Linked DNA regions of Homo sapiens: region 1 is linked to region 2. The links are contacts of gene promoters, found by promoter capture Hi-C in blood cells and fetal thymus (Javierre and others, 2016). All regions are on one chromosome and are shown on one strand. The core of a region is centred on a gene start or on the middle of the fragment in contact, and the rest is flanking DNA. Distances in the headings are between cores, read along the strand shown. Region 1 holds the start of LOC105370855 (a long non-coding RNA gene). Region 2 holds the start of C2CD4A (C2 calcium dependent domain containing 4A).

Region 1 (6,753 bases), core at 1,521-4,020, 620 kb before region 2:
GGGAGGAAGGGGGGTCAGCCAATAAAAAAAAAAAAAAAAAAAAAAAAAAAAAAAGAAGCCCATACCAAGAATTTTGAAAACTAGAGATAAAAATATCTTAAAAACAGCCACAGAAAAATGACATATTACCTACAAATTGACACCAACTTGAATGACAGCAAATTTATCATTAGAAACCATGGAGGTAAGAAAGAAGTGGCATGACACTTTTCAGATACTAAAAGAAAGGAACTGTCAATCCCAAATGCTGTACCTGGCAAAATTATCCTTCATGAATGAAGGGGAAATAATAACATTCTCAGAGGAAAAAAACACAAAGTCAATTTGTTGCTAGCAGATGTACCCTTAACAAATAGCTAAAGGAAGCTCTCCAAACACAAAATGATAACAGAAGAAGGCTGGGAACTTTAGAAAGGCAAGAAGAACAATGGGGTAGATAAAAATAAAGGGAAGTGTAATAGACGGTTCTTCACCTCATGAGTTTCTTTCATCACATTTTGTGTTCAAAGCAGAAGCTGTAACACCATCTTATGTGGTTATAGACAAAATAACCATCTTATGTGTATACTGAAAAAATATTTAAATAATTATACTCAAAAAGTGTGGGGAGTGGGTAGGTAAAAAGACCTAAATGGAAGTAAGGTTTCTACACTTAAGGGGGAAAAGCCATTACCAGTAGACTGTGTTTAATTTCATATGGACATGGTAATATCCAAAATAACCACTAAGAACACTACACAAAGTGATATGCTCAAAACGTAACACACAAAGCAAACAAACTCTAAAAAGGTGTCCAAGTAACCCACAGAAAAGGCAAAAAAAAAAAAAAAAAGAGAGAGAGAAATAAAGTGGACAAACAGAAAAACTACAAAATGATAGACTTGGGCCCTAACATATCAATAATTAGCTTAAATATAGTGTAAATATACCAATTAAAACTGAGATAGAATGGATTAAAAAAATATAACCCAACTAATTATGCTCTCTACAAGAATTCATTTCAAATATAACAGTATATGCAAGTTGAAAATAAAAGGATGGAAAAAGATGTATCATGCCCACATTAGTTTTATAAAAAGCATTGGTGGCTATGTCAACATTAGATACAGTAGACTTCAGAGAAAAACAAAAATTACTAACAGAAAATAACATTACATAAGGAAAAAACAACTTCTCTGTTAAGATAGAGGAATCTTAAATGTACAGGCATCAAACAACAAAGCTTCAAATTACATGAAACAAAAACTGAGAGCTGAAAGAAAAAGTAGAAAAATCCATAATTACTGTTAAGAACCTCACTCTCGGCAACTGAGAAAACTGCCAGGCAGAAAATTAACAAAGATATTCATTCAAAAGACTGGAACACCACCATCAACTAATAGGGATCTAACTGGTATTTATAGAGCCCACTTTACATGATAATAGCAGAATATATGTTCTTTTTGAATACTCGTAGAACACTCACCAAAAAGGATATCCTGGGATATAAAAACAAACCTTAAAATTTCAAAAGGACTGAAATCATACAGAGTATGTTCTCTGACCATAATGGAATCAAACTAAAAAATCAATAGTAGAAAGACAGCAGAAAAACCTCTAAACACTTGGAAATTAAATAAAGGCTAGGAGTAGGAAGGAAAAAATCACTACGTATAATGGGCTTTAATGTGACGTTATGCTTTAATCAAAATACTGTTATTCTCTCTTTTGCCTGAGGTAGTTAATGAGGTTATCATAACTATTCATTTTTTAAATAAATTTTTGTTTTCAATAAATACTTGGACCTAGTTTAAAAAGACCAATAGTATTACAAGATGTAAAACAAAACACAGTTGTTCCCTGTCCTACCCATTCCCAACTTCACTTTCTACCACATACCTCTCCAAAGGTAACCACTTTCAACTCTTTTAGCAGTTGCTTCTAGTATTTCTAAATAATATGTTTATATTGATTTCTTGATTTTTCTAATTTAGAAATCATCCATGACTTCCTGCAATGGAAGATGAGGACACAGCTAAGTATGAACATTCATCTTTTGAGGGCCACACAGGCACAAATGTTACAGCTACAAGAGGAAAGAAGGTATGTTTTCTGATGATTCCTTATAATTGGCAGGAACCTATCAATCTATAGTCAAATTAGATAACTAATGACTCTTTCCATGGCCCCTTCTTTACACAGTTTTTTTTCTGATGTCCTATTATGATATCTTGCATAGATAAGAGGTGATATTTCAAGCATTCACTAGAGACTTCAAGAGTCTTAAGAACTGACAAATTCTAGCACTTTTTGATTTTTCTTATTGCACATCTTGCCCTACCAACCACCCGCTCTATTGTGTTTCACATGTAAATGTGGCTATAGTTAAGGCATAGAGTTATACTCTGCTAACAACAAATGTTGAAATCAGGAGGAAGAATTCAGAGGTCTGAAGACCTGAAACAAACATATTCTCACTACTTTCCATAAATTTTATACTAAGCATCTTATCTTCATCTTATTCAATCCTAGCAGCTCTGTAGGTAGGACTATCACCATTTTATAGCTGAAGAAATTAAGGCTCAGAGAGGAAAGGTAACTTGAACAAGGTCACACAGCTGGGAAATGACAAACTGGATTTCTATAATAATACTATCCTAAAGTCCACGTTATTTCCACTGTGTACTATGCTCTCTTTCTAGGCAGGCTGGGAAAACATTCCTCAGCAAGATAATCACAATGCTTAGGACCATCTAAAACAGAGAGGGGGCCTTTGTGTCTCAGAGCACTAGAAAGTTTCCTTTCAGTATATGCTAGGGATGTCATCAGGAACACAGAACTGAGAATCATCTGGGTGAGTGGCTTTTTCTAGATAATGAACTAGAGGCTGACTTATGTAGAGTGCAGAGAAGCAGTAGTGCCTGAAGAAACCCAGGCTTGCTGACCTCTCTTTTACTTCTGGACCCATCCCCTTCCCTGCCCATGGGCTTGCACCATCTTCCTCACTCCACGCTGGCTCTCCCAGGCCAGAGAAACCCAATGGGCAAGAATCTGGTCTTTCTCCTGTCCCCACAATATCACTCAAGGCCACGCTAGTGCTCTCCTTGCCCTCTGCCAGTCCCTACCAGTGTGAAGCTCTTGGGTGAGGCTGCCCAGCGCTTGACGGTGGTGAGGGGCCACTCCTGCAGCACTTCCTTGGTCTTCTCATCCACGCGCATCACCGAGTCTTTGGTGATCCCCAGCAGGCGAGGCACCAGCTTGTTCTTGCCTTTCATCTTCTCCTGAAACAGGAGATACCAAGAGTCAGTGCTCTTCTTCTGAATACATCTGACTTTGCCAGGGAATCAGTGATTTTTTGACCTTTCACCTGCATACACTGTCTTTCAAAACAGGTAGGGCTATAGGGAAACCAAGATTTTGAGGCTAGGTGAATAACTCATTAAACTAAAGGCATGGGAACTCAAACAAAGACATGAGAAGACTGGAAAGAGCCACAAAATCATGCCCCCTGTTCAGGAGAGCAGCTTGCTCCAAAAACAGACGATGCCAGAAAGATGGGATAGAACTGAAAAGACATCCAGAGAAAAACAAGCAAAGGTGAATTCCAGGTACTATCACTCCCAGTGGCCAACTCAGTGAGTAACAAACAAGGGTTAATCTGAGATTTAAAATTAACTTAACTAAAACTCTGTCAAAGTAGAATCTTCTCATTATGAGGAGACACAGCTTCCTGCCCTTTTTTTTAAATCTCTGAAATATATTTCTGTTTGGATTCTTTGTTTTGGAATTTTGTATATCTACTGATTCTTAAAACTTATTTTATAACTAGTTTTAATAATGTTTTAAGATATAGTAATGTCTATTAAAATAATGGAACCCTAGCTCACACTCATACCAAAACAAATTAAAGACAGAGACAGATTAATAATTTAGGAAGAACATCCAAGTGGATATTTTTGTGATCCTTGGGTGACAAATGATTTCCTAAGAAAAACACCAACATAAGAAGCCATAAAGGAAACGATTAATATGCTTAACTCAAAATATACATACTTTTGATAGACCAGGGGGAGGAGAGCAGAAGCTAAAGAAACCTCATAAAAAATGAAAAAGACTGGGCAATAAATATTTACAATGAATGTAATGGCAATAGACTTCATATACTGTCTATGTGATGTGTTCATAAATCAACAAAATAACTGCTGAAGAATATGAACAGAAAATGTTTTTAAAATAAATAAGCAAATAAGTTTTCACTTAAAATAGCTAAGGTTTCTTATTAAAATTAATACTCAGATTTGAGGAAGATGTGAAGCGGGTCACTAGTGATGAAAGCTTAAGATAGCAAAGCCTTCATGGGGGAAAATGTGTCACTATCTATCCAAACCCTTAAAAAGTCCTTACTTTTGACACAGCTAGCTTTGAGAAATTTAGTTTAAAAAAAAGTTATAAATGTGTGTAAAGATTATGCCACATGAAGCTCAACCACAGTACATCATAGTGAAAAGCTAGAAACCACCCAATTTTCAGACAACATTAGGCCCATTCAGGGTGGTATGGCTGTAGATGAAACAATCCAAGTTTTCAATAACACAGGACTTGATACATAAATTATGATATATCCAGATAACAGATTACCCTACATTATTAAAAATCATATTGTAGAAAAACAATTGGTTTTATGGAAGTAAATTATTCATAATATATTATTAAAAAACAGAATATAGGGCCTAATCTTAGAGGAAATAAAAATTTAAAAATAGGCCTATGTCCATTACATGAAAAAGGCACTGAACATCTCATGTGTTTTGTATTATTTTTTCATGCTTTTCCTTATTTCCAAAATTTCACTATTAAGTGTGTATTTTTAGGGCTGTCAGGAAAACCTTTTCAACTCATATTTGCTGAAACCTAGCAACAACACCTAAACTGCTATTCTCAGAGGCCTAGATATATACATTCACACAAAGTATCTATGCATTTGTGGATGTGTCTACACACACCCAACACAGGGTAATGGCACATAAAACAGAGCTGGAACATACTAGATACTTAATAAGCACCATCTGTTAATCTTCAGAGCATCTCCAAAACACTGGTATCATCATTTTTCACTTTGCAAGTGAAGAGACCAAAGCCAACAGTGGTGAGTGGTAAAGCCATAATTTGAACATAGATTTGAGTAGCTCAAAAATATCTCTGACTTCAAAAGCTGACTGTCTACTGCAGTTTACTGTCTTCTGGTGGAAGCAAAAAGAGAAAAGGCCAAATCCTACCCACCCCCAACCGCCCTCACCATGGGCATCTGGTAACCCTCAGATGGTGACAGTCACCGCACACCCCCAGCTTCCTCACGGAGGACACCATGGTATGAGGAATCTACCTGGGTGTCTGAGGAGGGGAATATTCCTCCCTGAACCTCAAGTCTTAAAAAACACTGACAAGCGTCAGATTTTTTTCAAAGAGAGGGCAGTTCCACAAGGGGTGAGATCAGTGCAGGGCAGACAATGTCAGTTAATCTACTTTGGCTTCAGGAGCCACACAGAGTTTTAGCTTGATAGGCTCTAGGCAGCTAATTTAGTCACACAGGGTTGGCACAATCCCAGCTTCTGGGACCCAGGAAGGGGACTGGAGATAAAATATGGTTTGCAGCTGCTTCCTTCATTCTTTCCCATCTGCACTGTTCCCCAGTGAGGGCTTCTGGGGTGCGGGAACACAGAATCGTGACGGATTGCCCTAATTCTTGTCAAGATCATTCCAGATTGGGAGAGGAAGCCACAGTGAACAAACAACTTACAGTGGACGCTCTATCAACAGGTCACAACTGAGGAAAAGGGGCTGAGGGAACTCAAAAAATACTGCAACTGGCAACAGAGACCACCATCAAGGGATAAAATTACTTCAGCACCTACACACAAAACGCAGAGCAGCTGGAGAAAGGTAAAGTAGCAAATGGCTGAGATCTGTGATCGTGATGCAAGGTCTTCCCCGGTGCAGAGACCTGCCTTAGAGCCTCAGTGACAGGGATGTGACGGGAGGGCCACAGGGTAATAAAGCTCCCTCTTTCCTTCCTATGCCTCAAGTCTCAGTACCCCCGAACCACTCCTTTCCGACCTTCAACTACACAGACCAGCTTCCTTTTATCTCCAGTAGACAAAGCAGGCTAAAGCAGGCACCAGTGAAGACCCATCTATCTCATATACCAACACACACAAAGAGCTGTAGCTGTGATTTTTGACGGCCATCTAGAAGCTTCTCTCTCAAGATGGTCCTGATTAGATTGTTTTTGTTTTGAAAATGTCTACAGCTTGTGTAACTCAGAGGCAGGAGAATGCAGGCATTCTACCAATGAGAGGCGGGAGAATGCAGGCATTCTACCAATGAGAGGCGGGAGAATGCAGGCATTCTACCAATGAGAGGCGGGAGAATGCAGGCATTCTACCAATGAGAGGCGGGAGAATGCAGGCATTCTACCAATGAGAGGCGGGAGAATGCAGGCATTCTACCAATGAGAGGCAGGATTCGCTAATAAACCCAAGCCCTCCTCTTTCAAACGTATTTCAGCTAAAACTACGGGTTCAGCCCTGGCAGCCAGCTGTGATCAAGACTGCTGTCTGCAGGCTCTTTTCACTGGTGTAGAGATTGCCTGATTCTGCATCACCTCTGCCTCACATCTGAGATCCAGAACTGGATGGAGGAATGCAACTGGACTGAGCTTCTGGCTCCTGGACCCTCACTTCAATATGGCCCAAGCCCAAAGGGTCCTCCCCATGA
Region 2 (7,460 bases), core at 1,889-4,388:
ACAGGATTGTTAAATCTGGAATTATTATCAGAAGCCAGAGGTAAAACCATGCTATCTGTACACTCTCCACTGCCTGTTCCAGCAGATAAACTCACCTGGTTACAACAAGGCTGGCACCCATTTCTATGATTCTGAGGCCGGTTAGCTTCCTCCTCAGAGCTTTAGACCCATCAGCTCATCTCAATGCCTGAAGTTATTAGCATGAGATAATAAATTATTCATTTCAAGCAATTTGTTTTTTCACCAAAAGCAGGATGAGGAATACAAGTAGACACGAACTTCAGTGTCAACAGTTTCAGAGAGAAGTTGCACAATACTCGCAACTTTAATAGCGAGCCCTTTAGACACTGTGGTATTACCTACATAAGAGTAATGAGTGAAATGCTGATTGTCTAGGTTCAAATTCTGGCTCTGCTCTTTATTCTGTGCCTCAATATCCTCATCTGTAAAATGGGCATAGCAGTGCCTCCTTTTGGGGGTTAAAACATAAATTAACGCTTGTAAAACTATTTATTATTATTATTATTATTTGCAGACAGGGTCTCACTCCGGTTGCCCAGGTTGGAGTGCAGTGGCACGATCTCGGCTCACTGCAGCCTTGACCTCCCAGGCTCAAGTGATCCTTGCGCCTCAGCCCCAGAGTAGCTGGAACTACAGGTGCGTGCCACCACGTCCGGCTAAATTTTGTATTTTTTATGGAGACGCGGTCTTCCCATGTTGCCCAGCCTGGTCTCAAATTCCTGGGCTCAAGCCATCTGCCCGCCTCGGCCTCCCAAAGTGCCAGGATTACAGGCGTGAGCCGCCACACCTAGCCTATTATAACTATTATTTAAGCTTAGAATATTAAAATGGTTTCATTTTCTCCAATGCTTTTCCAGTGAGATATAGCTAGGAGTATCAGGCTGGCGTTCCAACTAATAATTCACTGTTGATCTTGGACAAGTCACTTCACCTCTTTTGCCCTCATTTTCTTATCCGGGGTCTTAAACAAAATGCTTCAAAAGTAAATGCTCCAAGATGGTCTCCATGCATGTTGTGGAAAGCACCAATTTTAAAATGAGGTGATTGGAGCAAACAGATCGCCAAGACACTTTCTAGTTCTAACACTTCATGTGATTCATTATTTCCTAGGCGTGTGTGGTACATATGGTATGCAAATGGCTGTCTATATTGGGAAACACTGTAGAACCATTCCATTTGCTGAAAAAAATTCTGGAGGTATCTATGGAAAATATCATATCTTTTACTGGGATAGTTAATCTAGAATCATCTCTGCCAGTGTTGTACTGAAACGGGACTGATAAGAACAACAAATACACGTTTATTTTGTACCACGCGGCTGTCAGTGTCCGGAGTCCCCCGGGCAGAGCGCCCCGGGGAGGGCTGGGCCCTCAGAGCAGCAGGAGGGCGCCCAGGGACAGCTCACCCTGGCCCAGCAGGCGGCCCCGCTCCCGGCCGCGGCCCTCGTCCCGGGCCTTGACTCGAACGGCCAGGCGGCGCACTTCGTCCTCCGAGAGGCCGTCGAAGCAGAAGTCCTGGTCAAAGGAGGCCTTGCGGCTGCGCCCCACCACAGTGCTGCATTGCCGAAGCGCGGTGCCCGGCGGCCGCAGGACGAGGCTGAGGCGACAGCTGACGGCTCGGGGCCCGGGGGCGCCTCCGGCCGGGCTCTCGGCGCGGAGCAGCCGGAGGCGGAGCCGCCCGGTTCCCGGACAGTACTCGGCGGCCAGGCGCAGGGCGTCGCCGGCGCGGCCCAGAGCCACGGTGCCCTCGGCCTCCAGGCGCTCGGGAAACGGGACCCGGGACGACGGCGGGCTCGTGGAGGGGGCCCGGGCCGGGGACTGGGAGCCCGCGCGGCGCTCCTTGTCCTCGTTCCCGCTGGAGACGGAGCGGACGCGGGTCAGGCGGCGACTCCTCCCAGCCCGCAGCGCGCGACTCAGCAGCCCGTCGGGGACGCGCAGGAGGCGGCAGCCGCGGGGCCGCCGGGCGAGCGCGTCCTGGGGCGGGCGGGGACAGCCGGGGGCCGCGGGGGTCGCCGGGCCCGGAGCTCGCGGGACGCGCAGGGTCCCCAGGAGGGCGTCCGGGCCGCCGCCGCCGCCGTAGGTGTGGGCCCGGGGCCGGGGCGCGGGCGGGCCCCCGAGCAGGAGCGACTCCTTGCGGCGCGTGTGCGGGCTCTCGAGCAGCGCGCAGAAGCCGTAGGCGGTGCGCACACGGGGCAGGTGCGGCAGTGACAGCGCGGCCTGCGAGCGCGGGTCCCAGTCTGTGCGGCCGGCGCCCTCGTCCATCCCTGCTTCTTCGACCCAAGAATTCCGGAGCGCAGCCAAGGCCAGGCGGGGCATGAGCCGTGGCGGGATGCAGAACTCAGGGATGCGGTCCGGAGTGAGCACATTTGCGCACGCGGCGGTGGTGCGAGACTTGGCTCCGCGGGCCCGACCCGGGAGAAGCCAGTCTCCGCTCCGCCGAAGGCACTCAGGACCCAAGCGGAGTCGCTCCAGGCACCACATCTGGCCACTCTCTGCTGGAGCTTGTCTACCTGCAGTGCACAAAGGCACAAGGATCGTCAGAGCGAGTCCCGCAAGGTGCAGTAAATCCTGTTCCTTTTCTCCTATTAATACTTTCGGGGTGTTTCTTCCTGCCTTTCCCGAAACAAGGCAAACTGCTCTTGCTTGCCGCTATTGCAAACTATTTTTTCAGTGAGCGAAAAACAACTGTTTTTCTTTTGTCCTATCTCAACTGTGTTGTAATACACACTTCGGAGCTTGTTTTAATCCCTCTCCGCCCTGGCTGGCCTAAGGCAGAGATTCACAAAATGCTGGATTGTAACTTCAGTCGCTCTGTTCTCTGTGCCAACGATTGCCTTGCAATCGTTTCCTGACTCTTTGGACCATAGCAGTCTAGTCCTCAGCTAGAATTAAAGTAATTGTTATTCCTTCCGGGAAACTGTGGCTGGTTCTCCCCTTGCAGAGGCAAAGAGCCTCAGACGAATCCCCCAGGGAATTAAGCAAGCCGATGGGTCCCTCCTAAAATACCTGGAGTCCTGCGTCAGATGGGTCTCTGCACCTTTCTGCCTGGGACACCGACCAGGAGAGGCGCTTAGCGGCTGGGAAATTCAAAGCGCGCGCGGCGGGGTTCAGCACCAGTGTTCAAGGACTGCCAGCCTGAGCTTTTATACCTGCCGCTGGGAGCGCTTGCCAGTGGGCCGAGCAGAGGGGCGCTGCCTGGTAACCTGACGCCAGGCTCTTCCCTGTCCCTCTGCCACGTGGCTGGATTTGCTGAGCAAGGTTTGGAGACCCAGTTCTTTCTCTCTCCGGCTTCAGGTGGAGGTGTTTTCCTCGGAAACCCCGAACAAGTTTCTGTTTCCTCACATGCAAAATGGTATTAAGTCTCTACTATACCGCAGAGTCATTGTGAGGATCGACGGGCGTAATGAATGTGAGCACGTAGAAGTACTCTACATTCACCATTAAAATGAAGACAAGTCCGGTTTGTCTTATTCTTGCCTAATACCCTTCCCCAAATCCAGCTTCCCAGTTGCCCAGCTTTCGAAGTTCTTTACTTGCTTTCCGGTTTTCAGTTCTGATTTTAGATGTTCTTTTCTGATTATAAACCCCTCTGGGTTAGGGGGAACATTTCATGTCTTGATCAGGGTGGAGTTACAGAGGTGTATCCATATGTAAAAACAATCAACTAGTGTACACTTAAGATTAGAGTACTTTATTGTATGTTATACATCAATTTAAAAAATCACAATCTACTTCTTAAGCCATGTGTGCTGATTTTTTATCGGGAAAATGTACACTTGCATGCATCTGGGCAGTTGGAATCATCCTTTGGAGGCGCCCTGACTACATCTGGCCTTTCTAGGCTGTGCCCACCAGAGAGACCCTTTTCCTTCCTTTTGAAAACTAACCTGTGTTCATTTTGTAAGAGAGTTGCTTCCAGTTAGCTCAGGCTGAAAGAGATCTGAGGCATTTTGTTCAGCGTTCAGGCAGATATTTCTGCCTAAGATACTGCCTTGCAAACTATTCACTTGTCTAAATAATATTTAATGAATTAAATTGAATTCATGCAAAAATGATTTCAGGATAGGGCATGTGCATTTTGTTTCCAGGACACACAGGCACTGTGCTAGATGATTTACATATAGTCTGTAGAACTGTCACAGAAACCCTGCATATTCGGATCATCCTTATTTTATAGATGAAAACTCAGTTTCAGAGGTCAAGTATCTTATCCAAGGTCACATAATGATGGGAAATGGAGGAAATCATACCTACTAATGGGTATAAATGAGCTGTTTGGGGAAATAATAATGTAAAATATTTTGCACCATGTAACATGGTAAGTGCTAAATACATAGAACTGATTATTATTAATAAAGATAGAAGGAAAGTTGTAAAGTATAGTGGTTAAGAAAATTGGGTCTGAAATTGGATCTACTGTTAATGCCAGAATGGTTGCTATGTGACCTTGAGCAAGTTAACTGTTCTAAGCCACAGTATCAAATTTAAAATTAATAATAGTGTCAACCTATACGGTTATCATGAGTATAAAGTAAGATGGTGAATATGAAGAGTTCAGCATAGGGCATGACATACACAATGTCGGATATAATATTATTATTACAGAAGAGAGCAAATGCTCATTAGTTCATTCATTCAAAGTAACATGTACTGAATGTTTTCTAGGTTCCAGCCATCATGTTAGGCAAGTGGATACAGGTTGGCTGTACAAGATCATATCAGCTATGTAAATCCATAAATGATGGAGTAAAATGATGAGGATAAACTATTTGAATTCCATCTGGGTGAGGCAGGCGTGAGAAGAGACTACCGAACATTATTTATTTAGTTATTTATTTTTAAGACAGGGTCTTACTCTCTTGCCCAGGCTGGAGTGCAGTGGTACAATCTTGGCTCACTGCAACCTCTGCTTTCTAGGCTCAAGCAATCCTCCAACCTCAGCCTCCCAAGTAGCTGAGACTACAGGCATGAGCCACCAGGCCCGACTAACTTTTTTTTTTTTTTGGAGAGATGGAGTTTCAACATGTTGACCAGGCTGGTCTTGAACTCCTGGGCTCAAAGTGATCCGCCCACCTCAGCCTCCCAAAGTGCTAGGACTATAGGTGTGAGCCACTGTACCTGGCCTGAACATTACTTATATGTTTCTAGTAGGGGGCAGGATTGGTGGGTCTCTGGATTTACTGTGTCCTTGAATAGCTATTTTTTTTTTTTTTTTTTGAGACAGGGGCTCACTCTGATGCCCAGGCTGGAGTGCAGTGGTGCAATCAAGGGCACTTCAACCTCAACTTCTCAGGCTCAGGTGATTTTCCCATGTCCCCCTCCTGAGTAGCTGGGACTACAGGCATGCACCACTACCTGGCTAATTTTTATATTTTTTATAGACATGGGATTTTGCCATGTTGCCCAGGCTGGTCTCAAACTCCTGGGCTCAAGAGATCCCCCAGCCTCGGCTTCCCAAAGTGTTGGGATTACAGGTGCGAGCCACTAAGCCCAGCCTACTTCTTTGTCTTGAAATCACCTCTACTCTTTGCCAAAATTCTTGGGCCAGGGCTAAATCTATGGGAAAAGTTTTATCAAATTATATACTTGAGGGCCATGTGCATGTGTTCTGACTCAGCTTTTCCTGGGAGACAAGAATGTTGTTAGCCCTGTTGAGAGCTCTTGGTTAAAGTGATTAGGAGCACAGATCAGAGTTTACAGTCTGAGAAGTTGGCTGAAAAGTTGTTAAGCAAGTTAATGAACCTGTCTGAGCTCAAGTTATAAAATGAGGGTAATAATACCGACCACATTAAGATTGTTGTGGGGGTTAAAAAGATATGCATGAAAATGCTTGGTTGGCAGTTAAACACTAGCTAACAGTTATTATTATTACTATCATTTTATTATGAATGTTTGCTTGGGCAGGGATTAGCTGATTCATACATGGATTCCTTTAAAAACATTTTTCTCCTCAGGCAAGCAAAGCAGATCTACTTTGTTTTTATTAATGATTCACCTTCTTTAGTAACACCTTAATAGCATTTCCTGTACATGATTTTTTGAAAATAGCAGAGATTTGCCATTGCGTGGCTGGTCCCTGTGACCCTGTTAAGCCTTATGTTTTACTTAACTCGGAAGCACGAACCAACCACCCAGTACTTGGGAGAATGGTGTAACAGGGTGCCCGGAACACACAAATCTACTCACAGGAAGACAGTGGCTGTTCCAAGCTCCCAGCTGTAGCTGTGGGAACATCCAGTATTGGAGCTGGAAAACAATTCTGTAAAGTGAGCATGAATAGACCACATACCATCAAGACCAGAGGTGCTCTAAGAGTAAAAGGAAATTAAACATTTTAAAGCATACTTACAAAAATATAGGAGGTTGAGTGTCAAGGAAAGCAAGAAGAGAGATTACAACCAATAAAACACCAGTGTTCTGACTTATGCATCTTGTTCAACACAACTAGAGTATGGGGTACTGGAAAGAATACAGAGCAGGGAGTCAGGACACTTGGGTTTGGGTTTTTGCTCTGACAGTCACTAACTTGTGGGACTTTGGGCAAACCCTTAATTCTCCCTGGCACTCAGTGTCTCCATCTGTCAATTGAGGGGGCTGGATTAACAGGATGATCCTCCCTCTGGCACTAACATTCTGAAATCCACTCCCGTGCTTTCTCCTAGTTAACCTCCCTAACTTTTCCTGCAGTCCATGGTGTCATGGCTTATACTCCAGCTTTCTCCTCCATTTCCTTTCCCCCAAATTCCTTCTGCTTTTCTCCAAAAACTCTAGGGTTGGGGAATAGGGTATGGGTGGTGGTTAGTGTGAAGTTTTTTTTTTTTTTTTAAACACTTTTGAGTTAATTTTTAAGTGTCCCTAACTTATACTTTTGTTTTTAACAGAAATACTTTGCTCATCTGTTTTTATTGTTTAGTCCCTCATTGAAGTTTAGTTTTGTAATTTCCTTTGTTGTCATTCTCATTGTTCTTAAGCCAGAATGAAGGCAAGAACTATAATTAATTAGAATGCTCATTTTCTTTAACCTCTGTTATCCAAATTATTTCTGATATAATGCCATACATAAGGGTGCTAATGGTGTTTCTTGACATTGGTTATAGTTTGTTTTAAATTGGGACTGTATATTTCTGACTTGTTAAATAATGGAAGATTTGGGGCATTACTGAATGCACATAATCAATCCCTTAAAACATGCTGAAAATGGAAAATAGTAAAATTTAAAGCTTTTTATACTACATGATAATAGCATTTTTTTGTACCAAAAATGTAGAGCCAAATTTTCCACTCTGAGATTTATTTTTTCTGTCATGAACCTTTCAAAGTAAGATCTCTGAAAATGACTAATAGCCCAGTGTTGATTAAATTGTATAATTACCAGAAGAGAAAAGGGTGGCAGTGCTCAGAGAATCAAAGGAAATTAATATCTGCTGTGTGACTTTGGGT

The links. The method cuts DNA at HindIII sites, captures the fragments that hold promoters and counts their contacts. A CHiCAGO score of 5 or more calls a contact.
Region 1: a fragment that was not itself captured here is called in contact with the fragment with the promoter of C2CD4A in region 2 in 1 of 17 cell types (M0 macrophages); the score reaches 5.0 in M0 macrophages.

What each region holds. Positions count from the first base shown.
Region 1 is chr15:62,683,148-62,689,900 of GRCh38, reverse strand. It overlaps TLN2 (talin 2), which reads right to left. Exons shown (of 59, transcript NM_015059.3): 12 at 3,105-3,260. It overlaps LOC105370855 (a long non-coding RNA gene), which reads left to right and starts at 1,876. Exons shown (of 5, transcript XR_007064673.1): 1 at 1,876-2,082; 2 at 5,797-5,919. The HindIII fragment of the contact is 3,092 bases long and covers 1,225-4,316 here.
Region 2 is chr15:62,062,655-62,070,114 of GRCh38, reverse strand. It overlaps C2CD4A (C2 calcium dependent domain containing 4A), which reads right to left and starts at 3,138. Exons shown (of 2, transcript NM_207322.3): 1 at 3,027-3,138; 2 at 1-2,530. The coding sequence starts at 2,501. The coding sequence ends at 1,392. RefSeq lists silencers at 1,309-1,798, 1,849-1,988, 2,119-2,168, 3,031-3,325 and enhancers at 2,399-2,914, 3,315-3,484. The HindIII fragment of the contact is 6,406 bases long and covers 837-7,242 here.